Regions from separate parts of the Homo sapiens genome. Here region 1 is linked to region 2. The links are contacts of gene promoters, found by promoter capture Hi-C in blood cells and fetal thymus (Javierre and others, 2016). All regions are on one chromosome and are shown on one strand. Each heading gives the region's core, a stretch centred on a gene start or on the middle of the fragment in contact. The rest is flanking DNA. Distances are from core to core; before and after follow the strand shown.

Region 1 (5,207 bases), core at 2,683-5,182, 91 kb after region 2:
ACTGATTTGTCTTTAGCTATACGACAAGCTTGGGTGAGGGCAAAAATCTTCAAGAGTTAAGCTGACTTATAGAGCTTAGACTAATAGAGCTGACTAATAGAGGAAGGGGTCCCTTCTCTATTAACTCATTTTGGTAACAGCATATCCTAGCTGATATTTTCCTTCTGAGCTTTTGGCATAGGACCCATCAACAAAAGTATTAACTCAGGATTGTCCAAAGGACTAACTTGTAAATTAACATGAGGGGCCACTATTTCTGATGCTACACTTATGCAATTGTGGTCTTCACCATCATCAGGCAGCAGTAATACAGTGGCATGGTTAAGTAAATTGCAGTGTTTTAGAGAGAGATTAGAAGGAGACAGAGTATTTCATGTTAGTCTACTTACTAAAAAATGCTGGGTTTGGGTGGAATTTAGCATGTGGGACTTCCAAATTAAATTCATTTCCTAAAACCAGATCAGCTGAAGCTTCTTTCATCCTGGTTGCTGCTGCTACTGCTTTTAAATAGTTAGGATATACCTTAGCTACTGGGTCTAATTGCAGGCTATAATATGCAATGGGCCTATGTTTCTCCCCATGTTCCTGGGTAAGAACTCCTAAATGCCTGATTATTACTTTCATGAGCCAATTAGGTAAACAGTTTAGTGCAATTTGGAAGTCCTAAAGCTGGAGGCTGTTACAAGGTCAATTTTATTTAGCTAAAAGCCTGCTCGTAACTATCATCCCAAGATAAAGGCTCTGGTACAGCATTTTTTAGGGAGCTCATGAAATGGTGAGGCTATTAAGGAAAAATTCAGAACCCAGGAATTTTATATCCTGCAAGTCTAAAAACATATCCTGCAAGTCCAAGAAAACTATTTAATTATCTTTTGGTTGCAGGCCAAGGAAAATTTTGAATAGTTTTTAACTTTTTAGGTGAGAGGGAAATCCCTTCAAGTCATGTCCCAAATAATGGACTTTTTCCCCTTGAAAACTGAAGTTTTTCTATTGAAGCTTTCTGACCTTGATGTGTGAGTTGCTGTAAAAGGTAAACTGAGTCCATTTCAGAGCACTCTTTAGTGGGAGAGCATATAGTAAGTCATCTATGTACCGAATGAGAGTAGAATTTTAAGGAAACTATAATGTCATTAAGTCCTGATGCAAGGCCTGGGAAAAATACGAAGGGGCTTCGGTAAACCCTTGCGGCATCACAGTCTAGGGGTACTGCTGATTTTTCCAAGTGAAGGCAAATAAGCATTGACTCTCTTTACGAATTGGATTGCAAAAAGAGGCTGAGCAGAGATCTAATATTGTGAACCACTTAAGAATCAGCATGTATACTGGATAATAAAGTATTAGGATTTGGGACTATAGGAAACCTTGCTACTACAATTTTGTTAACTGCCCATAAATCTTGAATAAATCTTCAACCTCATCCATTTTTTTTTTAACCAGTAGGATTGGAGTGTTACAACGGCTGGTGCATAGAATTATAAGTCCCTGTTTAATTAAATCTTCTATAATTGGCGAGAGCCCTTGAATTGCTTCTAGTTTTAGTGGATATTGGGTAATTTAGGCAAAAGTTTAGAGTGGTCTATTTGGACTTTTATAAGTTCCACACTTTAAATTCTTCCTGTGTCAGTTGAGGAAGAGACCCATAAACATTCATGTATTTTTGGAAGATCAGGCATTACAGGCCTGAGTTTCAATCTTATTAATTTCTGCCTATAGAGAGCATAACAATTCTGGTTCAGGAGAATCAGGAAACTGATTCTTACTCCTTCTAAGGAAAATTTTACATCCTCCCCACTTTTAAAAATTTTTTAATTTAAACAATTTCAATTGTTTTGGGAGTACAGGTGGTTTTTGGTTACATGGACAAGTTCTTTACTGGTGAGTTCTGAGATTTTAGTGTGCCCATTTCCCAAGCAGTGTACAATGTACCCAATAGGTAGTCTTCTATGCCCTTTCAGCTTTGAAAGTAAATCTCCCTCTAGCAAATTTACTGGAGCACTATCATACAGTAAAAAAGTGTGATTTTCTGAAGAGTGCCCCAAAGTCAATTGGACGGGTTCAGATATGGGAACCTCTTGAATTTGATTTGAAACCCCAACCACAGAAATAGCCTTTTTAACTCTGAGGGATCTGTTGGCGTATGAAAGTGTGTTTTACGGTAGTGGCAGATAAGGTAGCTCTGGTATCCACCAAGACTATACATGAGTCCCCATTTATTGTAACCTCTGTTTCTCCATATTCTTTTAAGGGTGTTATGAGGAGCAATATACTGGGAAATCCCTCAGAGCCGCTTCAATGCTGATTATCTTCAGGAGAGCTAAGGTCTCTTGTGCTCCCTCTAGTGGTGAAACAGGCTGGCCTAAAGGGAGGGTCATTGGTGGGCTGGTATAAAAGGGCACAATCCCTATTCCACTGTCCTGGTTGTTTGCAATAAGGCAGACATCTTAGGGTGAAGAATTTCTTGGTCTAATACCTCTTGGTTGTGATTTAAAATGAGAATGAGAAGATCCCTTTGGTCTTGGCCCCTGTAACTGTTGTAATTGAACAGTCATAAGCTTGTTAGCCTTTTGGGTTTTTTCTTGCTCTACAGTCCTCTCAAAATGTTCAGCTAGAGCCACCAATTCAGTCATGGCTGTAACTTCCCATCCGAGTTTATGTTTTCTAATTAAATTTCTAAGTTCAGGATGAAGTCCCTTTATAAATAGAGTAGTTAATACCATTTCAGTCCCTGCAGGAAATACTCCTTGCTGGTACTCTGAGCCCAGAATGTTTCACATTATTTCTAAGCAAGTTCTGTAATCTGACACTGGTTCATTCTTTTTTTGGTTTACAATATTGTATGATGTACCAATCAACTTTTGCGGAAAAATTTTAGCACTTGAATTTAAAAGATTTTCAGCAATTTTTTTTTCCTTCTTTTCTTTTGAGATGGGGTCTCGCTCTGCTACCCAGGCTAGAGTGCAGTGGCACAGTCATGGCTCACAGTAGCCTCAAGCTCCCAGGCTCAGGTGATCCTCCCACTTCAGCCTCATAAGTAGCTGGGTCTACAGGCGTGTGCCATCATGCCCAGCTAACTTTCTGTATTTTTCGTATAGACAGGGTTTTGCCATGTTGCCCAGGCTGGGATTTGCAGCAATATTTCTAGCTCCTGTTGGGCCTTCTCATGAGGAAGTTTTGTGGGGGCGGGCAGTAGGGGCAGAGTCTTTAATATCTTCCTCCGGTTTGTTCCATTCTGCTGCTGCCATCCATTTTTGAGCTTCACCAGGCCTCCATATCATATGAATAAATTTATATGAACCTTTGTCAGGGAGTCCTGGATCATAATCTCCTATGAGGATTCTACACTCCTCAGTCAATTTTTGAGGATTCTCTCCTAGATCAGGGAAGTCTTCTACAATAGCTCTAAGCTCAGTTTTAGACCATGGAGTGAAAGTGGTTATAGCAGGCAGGCCTGGATAATCAGAAGGTCTTCCTTTGTGAGGCGTACATCTAATTCCTCTTTTTTCATCATCTTGAGAGTGAAAGGTCAATTTAGTAAAAAGGTTAGTAGACTCAGAGTACGTAGGTAGAGATGCATAAAGAGAAGAATCAGTTGGGGTTAGTTCAGTCAGAGTACAGTTCTCTTTCATCATGTCCTTAGCCTGTTACTTAAGCTGTTCACTTGCTTTTGCGAAGAATCTTTTAAGGAGGCAAGTTTTCATTCATTTTGTCTTTTAGAGGCTTCCATGTACCAATGAAAGACTATATCCCACTGTTTTTGTGGGGTTTTGACCCCCTTTTTCTAATATGCCATGCAAATAAACAATTTTATACAAATTAAAACTTCCCCATTGTGGCCATCTTTTCTCTAGTAAGGTTAATCTATTTTTCTAAAAATGCACATATTCTGGGTCCATAATTTTACATATCAAATTAGATGGAGTCCCAGAAGGTAGAGTCCCAGAATCTTTGGATTGAGACAAACCCATTATCAAAAAAAAAAAAAAAAAAAAAGTGCCTAGTATAGGTCTGAGGCTCTAACGGAACCTAATCCAGTTAATTATTGATTCAAATTTGATCCTGAACCCAGTCCACTTTAATATCGCTCCAGTAAAGTTGGAGAGCTTCAATTAGAATACACATTAGTGGAGCTCTGAATCCAAGAGAAAACGCATCTACAACCTCCAGTTACAATCAAGAGATCAGTGAGCACAACTGGCCTGGTCACCTGGTGTTCCTGGAGGTCACCAGAGTTTTACTTCAAATTGCACTTCCAACACCAGATCTGGTAAAAGAAAAACCTTAGACAAACTAAATTTAACAGAATTTAATTTTGAAGAAAAAAAAAAAGACAATTCACAAATCAGGCAGTCCCTAGAATCACAGCAGATTCAGAGCAACACCAGAGATGCTATGTGGTCGGAAAAAACCTTATGAATAGAAAAAGTAAAGTGACACGCAGAAAGCCGAAGTGAGGTACAGAAATAGCCAAATTGGTTACAGCATGGTGTTTGCCTTATTTGAACATGGTTTGAACAATAGGCTGCCTGTGAGTCACTGAAGCATGGCTGCTGCGATTGGCTGACGCTCAGCTATTGCTACAGAAGCATCCTTCTAAGTTAGGTTTTCAGTTGGCCTACCTACAAAGTTAGGTTATGGTTCATCCTTAAGGACTCAAGTATGGGAGTGAGGAGGCTTTCTCAGGCCAGATTTTAGTTTGATTTAATAGTTCCAAATTTAAGTCAGTCCTTTGCTCCAATATCTGATCATAGGCTATTAGAAGCAGCCAGGCCATTTCTTGAATGCTTTGCTGCTTAGACATTTCTTCTACCAGATACCCTAAGTCATTACTCTTAAGTTCAGCCTTCCACAAAGCCCTAGGACATAGATACAATGCAGCCAAGTTCTTTGCTAGGGCTTAACAAGGGTGACCTTTGCTCCAGTTCCCCATAACTTCCTCATTTCCATCTGAGACCTCATCAGGCTGGCCTTTACTGTACATATTTCTGTCCACATTTTGGTTACAACGACATTACAAATCTCTAAGAAGGTCCAAACCTTTTCTCATCTTTCTGTCTTCTGGGCCCTCCAGACTCTTCCAACCGCTGCCTCATACCCAGTTCCAAAGCCACTTCCACATTTTCAGATATCTTTATAGCAACGCCCTACTCCTCGGTACCGACTTTCTGTGATAGTCTATTTTGCGTTGCTATAAAGAAATATCTGAGACT
Region 2 (4,623 bases), core at 1,892-4,391:
ATTTTTACATTTGTGGATATTCCTTCTTGTCAACTTCCAGAGCAGGAGTCTTCTTTTCAGTGTCCGGATGTTTGGAATACGGACTCTGCTTATGAGAAGCAAACACCAGAGAGGTAGAAGACAAGGCTGACTGCAGACCTTCCCTCTTCTAGCCTTTGGTCACATTTCTTTTGCCCATGGTTTGCTACCTCTGGCTCCTTGGGCCACACAGACACCCTGCCATCCTGCTCTTTTATACGTGAGAAGCATTCAGGATACTTTCTTTCTTCTCACATAAGGGGATCCAGTATGGCAGTTACTTTTAGCCTCCTCTCTCTTGCAAACAGCCACTATAGAATCTTGGGCCTTTGGGATATCCTGTCAGCCATGCTTGGGTGCAAGGGCTAGGCAAAATGAAGAATTTAAGCATTTAGTGGAGAATAGGAAACAGGCAAGTTGAGGGTACAGGGAAAAAGAGATTTGTGTGGATTTTTTGGTTTATGTGACAAACAATTCGACACACTTATTTTGTATTAATAGAACATAGAATTTAATATTTTTTATGTAGCTAGTCCAGAACTTCCATTACTTCTGTACACTGAAGAAAATAATCATAATATTCTTTTTCCATTATGTTTTATGTCATATTACCTCATTTATGTTATTCATTAGTATGTCTGGTTACTTTCTAGGAACCCTATTCCGCCTAGGTCTGGATTTTCTTGTGTCAACTATAACTGAGTTTGTTCTCACCCCAATGTTGTGTCTTTTAGCAAATTGAAAGTGTAAGCCCAATACAGCTTTTCTAGCTTCTGAAAGATTTATGTCACGTTTTGTATCTTGTCATGTCTATAGACATTTGTAACATTTGTAGTTTTGGGCTACTATACACCTATTGGAATTTTTCATGCATTTCAGAAAAACATTGTATTATTTATTTATTTATTTCGTGATACAGAGTCTCGCTCTGTTGCCCAGGCTGGAGTGCAATGGCACAATCTTGGCTCACTGCAACCTCCGCCTCCCATGTTCAAGCCATTCTCCTGCCTCAGCCTCCCAAGTACCCTGGACTACAGGTATGAGCCACCACGCCCAGCTAATTTCTGTATTTTTAGTAGAGATAGGATTTTACCATGTTGGCCAGGTTGATCTCTAACTCCTGACCTCAAGTGACCTGCCCGCCTCGGCCTCCCAAAGTGCTGGAATTACAGGCATGAGCCACCATGCCCGGCCACAATATTTTACAATTTAATGTCAAATTTGAATGTGGGCTGGGCGCAGGGGCTCACGCCTGTCATCCCAGCACTTTGGGAGGCCGAAGAGAGCAGATGACTTGAGGTCAGGAGTTCAAGACCAGCCTGGCCAACTTGGTGAAACCTTGTCTTTACTAAAAATACAAAAATTAGCCGGGCATGGTGGCACACGCCTGTAGTCGCAGCTACTCAAGAGGCTGAGGCAGGAGAATTGCTTGAACCCAGGAGGCAGAGGTTGCAGTGAGCTGAGATCGCGCCACTGCACTCTAGCCTGGGTGACAGAGAGAGACTCCATCTCAACAACAACAACAACAAATAATTAAATGTTCCTAATTGTAGGTTTGTTATGTTCTGCTATCCTGTCTTTTTCTTTTTCCAATGAACAATTTATGAATATTGACACATTTTTAATGATGTGGAAATTTTCAGAATTGTAAATGTTTATGTATTTAAAACTGGTTGGAAAAGTACTGTCTCAAAAATGTTAATAAAGCTAGCAGTCTAGCTTTATTAATATTCATTTATTCAATAGCTCTGACCTTTCTTATCCTTGGTTTACCCAGCTCTGAAATGGTTGCAAAGATTACTAAAAATATATGTAAGTTACTTTCATAAATTAGAAACTAAGAAGTAAAAATTACTTTCAAAAATCTGCCATTGGCCAGGTGCGGTGGCTCAAGCCTGTAATCCCAGCACTTTCGGAGGTCGAGGAGTGCTGATCATGAGGTCAAGACATCGAGACCATCCTGGCCAACATGGAGAAACCCTGTCTCTACTAAAATACAAAAAATTGGCTGGGAGTCGTGGCATGCACCTGTAGTCCCAGCTACTCAGGAGGTTGAGGCAGGGAGAATTGCTTGAACCCGGGAGGCGGAGGTTGCAGTGAGCTGAGATGGCACCACTGCACTCCAGCCTGGTGGCAGAGTGAGACTGGGTCTCAAAAAAAAAAAAAAAAAGTCTGCAATCATAATTACTTACAGTTTAATCTGGAATTTAGTACTCTATTCTATTTTCAAAGCTGCTATAGGGTATGCTGTCCTTTGTAGTTCCACTTTTAGCAGAATTGAACGTTTTTCTAACGGGTACAGATCTTTATGCTTGAGACTGTGTGGAAACCTTGGACTTGAGCTCCACTCTCAGTTATTTTTTGTATTTGCTAAAACTTAAATACATTCTGTCCACCTCTAGCATGATACCTGGTATGTGATAGGAACCCAATAAAAGTTTGGCTTTGATGGGAGTGTATGTTTCTACATTATTTTTGGAGGGTAATTAGGTAGTATCTTTCCAAATTTTAAGTTTGTATGTGTTTCATTCCAGACATTCTACTTCTAGGAATTTAGATATAGTTGTATATATGTATAAGGATGTTCACATTGCAGCATTGTCTGTAACAAGATTTGAAAAGAACCTGAAAACAACTAAAGGTCCATTAATATTGAACTGGCTAAATACGTTATGGTACTTTTAATTATGTTACTCATAAGCAAGTAAATTGCCTATAGCCATTAAAAATAGAATCTATGTATGCATAAATTGACTGGGATAATCAGTGTTTAAGGTATACTGTAGAATATGTACAGTTACTCCTTTTGTATAAAAATAGAGGATATACATATATGTGAAAGTAAATATGTATACAAAATATGCAAAATGTGAATGTAAGCGCTGGTAAATATCTAGAAGAACACACAAGGAACCGGGGCGTGGGGCGGATCGGGCAGAGGGACTTCCCTGTGCCTCACTGTTTGAATTCTGAAGGGTGCATACACGCCCTTATTGACCTGTGCTACTGGCCTCTGGCTAAAGAGGGCGCTGTAGCCACCAAAGTCCTGTTTACAGATCAGGAGTCTCAGTAAGCCAGCGTGGCTACGCCATCACGACCGGCGGTGGCACATGCGCAATAGCGAGACGCTGGAGCGCGGCGTAGGTGGCTGCCGAGTCTTTTCCTGTTTAGGGTCTTATCCTGGCATTGAGGGCGCCGGACTGGCGCTTTTGGCCGACTTGGCATTGGGTGGGCGGCTTCTTGGGACCCACATGAGCCAGTGGCATCATCCCCGCAGTGGCTGGGGCCGGAGACGCGACTTTTCAGGACGCTCCTCAGCCAAGAAGAAGGGCGGAAACCACATCCCCGAAAGGTAGTATGTCTTGGTCCCTTGGCGTGGCCTTTCCAGCTCGTGGCTTCTGGGTCTGGGCTTCATCGTTTGTGGTCTCTGCCTCTCGCCGTTGCCATCGCAAGCTTGACTTGTCCGCCGCTTGCTTTGAGGCTTTGACCCTCTGCGCCACCCGCTGTAGCTGAAAGGGGCGATGTCTGTGATGTCCTGTGATTTCTCCATATTCTTGTAAAAGGGAGGTTCTGGCCATTGCTCTTAGGTAAAATACGGAAGGATTGCTTTAAGGTGGGACTGTTACTGTTGGGGACACTCCTTAATTCCCAAAATGGAACCTCCTCAATTCCTTGTTACGTTGGCACGGAAAGTGTAATGGTTTGAGTTAGGAACCCAGCAGTAGTAGCGCCCTGAGATCTCACATGGAAAGTTGGTTTGTATTGTTTCCAGAAATCACAAAGAGCATACTTTGTTACTTCCTAACAGGCCTCATTTGAAAGATAACTCCTTTATACGTACAAATGATTAATTTTGAGACTTTGCACGTAGGTGCATTGAACTGTTTTTACTCCTTGAGACCATCCTCCACCATCTCATACCTCAATAAATCCTCTTCATTTTATCTACTATCTTTTGACTGTCACTTTCTGTCAGTACCCTAATACAGGTCTTGCCTGACTTATTGCAGTGGGGTTCTAATTAGTGAATCTCCTGTTTGTTTTCTTCCAATCCGTTTTTTTGTTTTTGTTTTTGGGATGGATTTTTGCTCTTCTCCGCCAGGCTGGAGTGCAATGGTCCAATCTCGGCTCACTGCAACCTCCGCCTCCCGGATTCAAGCGATTCTCCTCCCTCAGCCGCCCAAGTTGCTGGGATTACAGGCGCCCGCCACCACACCCGGCTAATTTTTTTTGTATTTTTAGTAGAGATGGGGTTTCACCATGTGGGTCAGGCTGGTCTCGAACTCCTGACCTCAGGTGATCCACCTGCCTCAGCCTCCCAAATTGCCGGGATTAACAGACGTGAGCCACCGCGCCCGGCCAGTTCCTAGCATTATTAAGTGAAGTTCACAGTCCCTCTTCTAGCAGGTTTTCTCTTAAAATATGAACTTGAAGTTTCCTACTAATTGAACTTTATGGCATCAGTCGTATGAAAACTAAAAGCGTGAAGTGAAATAATTGAATTTAAATTATTTCAGTGAATATGTTTGTATTAATGGCACTTTAGTATCTGGTACTGGGCCAAGTTTAACAGGGATACAGAAGTTCTGGGTATCTCCGGTTTTA

What was found. The method cuts DNA at HindIII sites, captures the fragments that hold promoters and counts their contacts. A CHiCAGO score of 5 or more calls a contact.
Region 1: a contact is called between a fragment that was not itself captured here and the fragment with the promoter of DUSP11 in region 2, in 1 of 17 cell types (megakaryocytes). The highest score is 5.8, in megakaryocytes.

What each region holds. Positions count from the first base shown.
Region 1 is chr2:73,688,007-73,693,213 of GRCh38, reverse strand. No RefSeq gene overlaps it. Among named protein-coding and RNA genes, the nearest start is that of TPRKB, 47 kb to the left of the region's middle. The HindIII fragment of the contact is 2,755 bases long and covers 2,555-5,207 here.
Region 2 is chr2:73,778,621-73,783,243 of GRCh38, reverse strand. DUSP11 (dual specificity phosphatase 11) reads left to right here and starts at 3,141. Exons shown (of 9, transcript NM_003584.3): 1 at 3,141-3,370. The coding sequence starts at 3,270. RefSeq lists enhancers at 3,170-3,239, 3,320-3,369, 3,500-3,649. The HindIII fragment of the contact is 6,659 bases long and covers 1-3,473 here.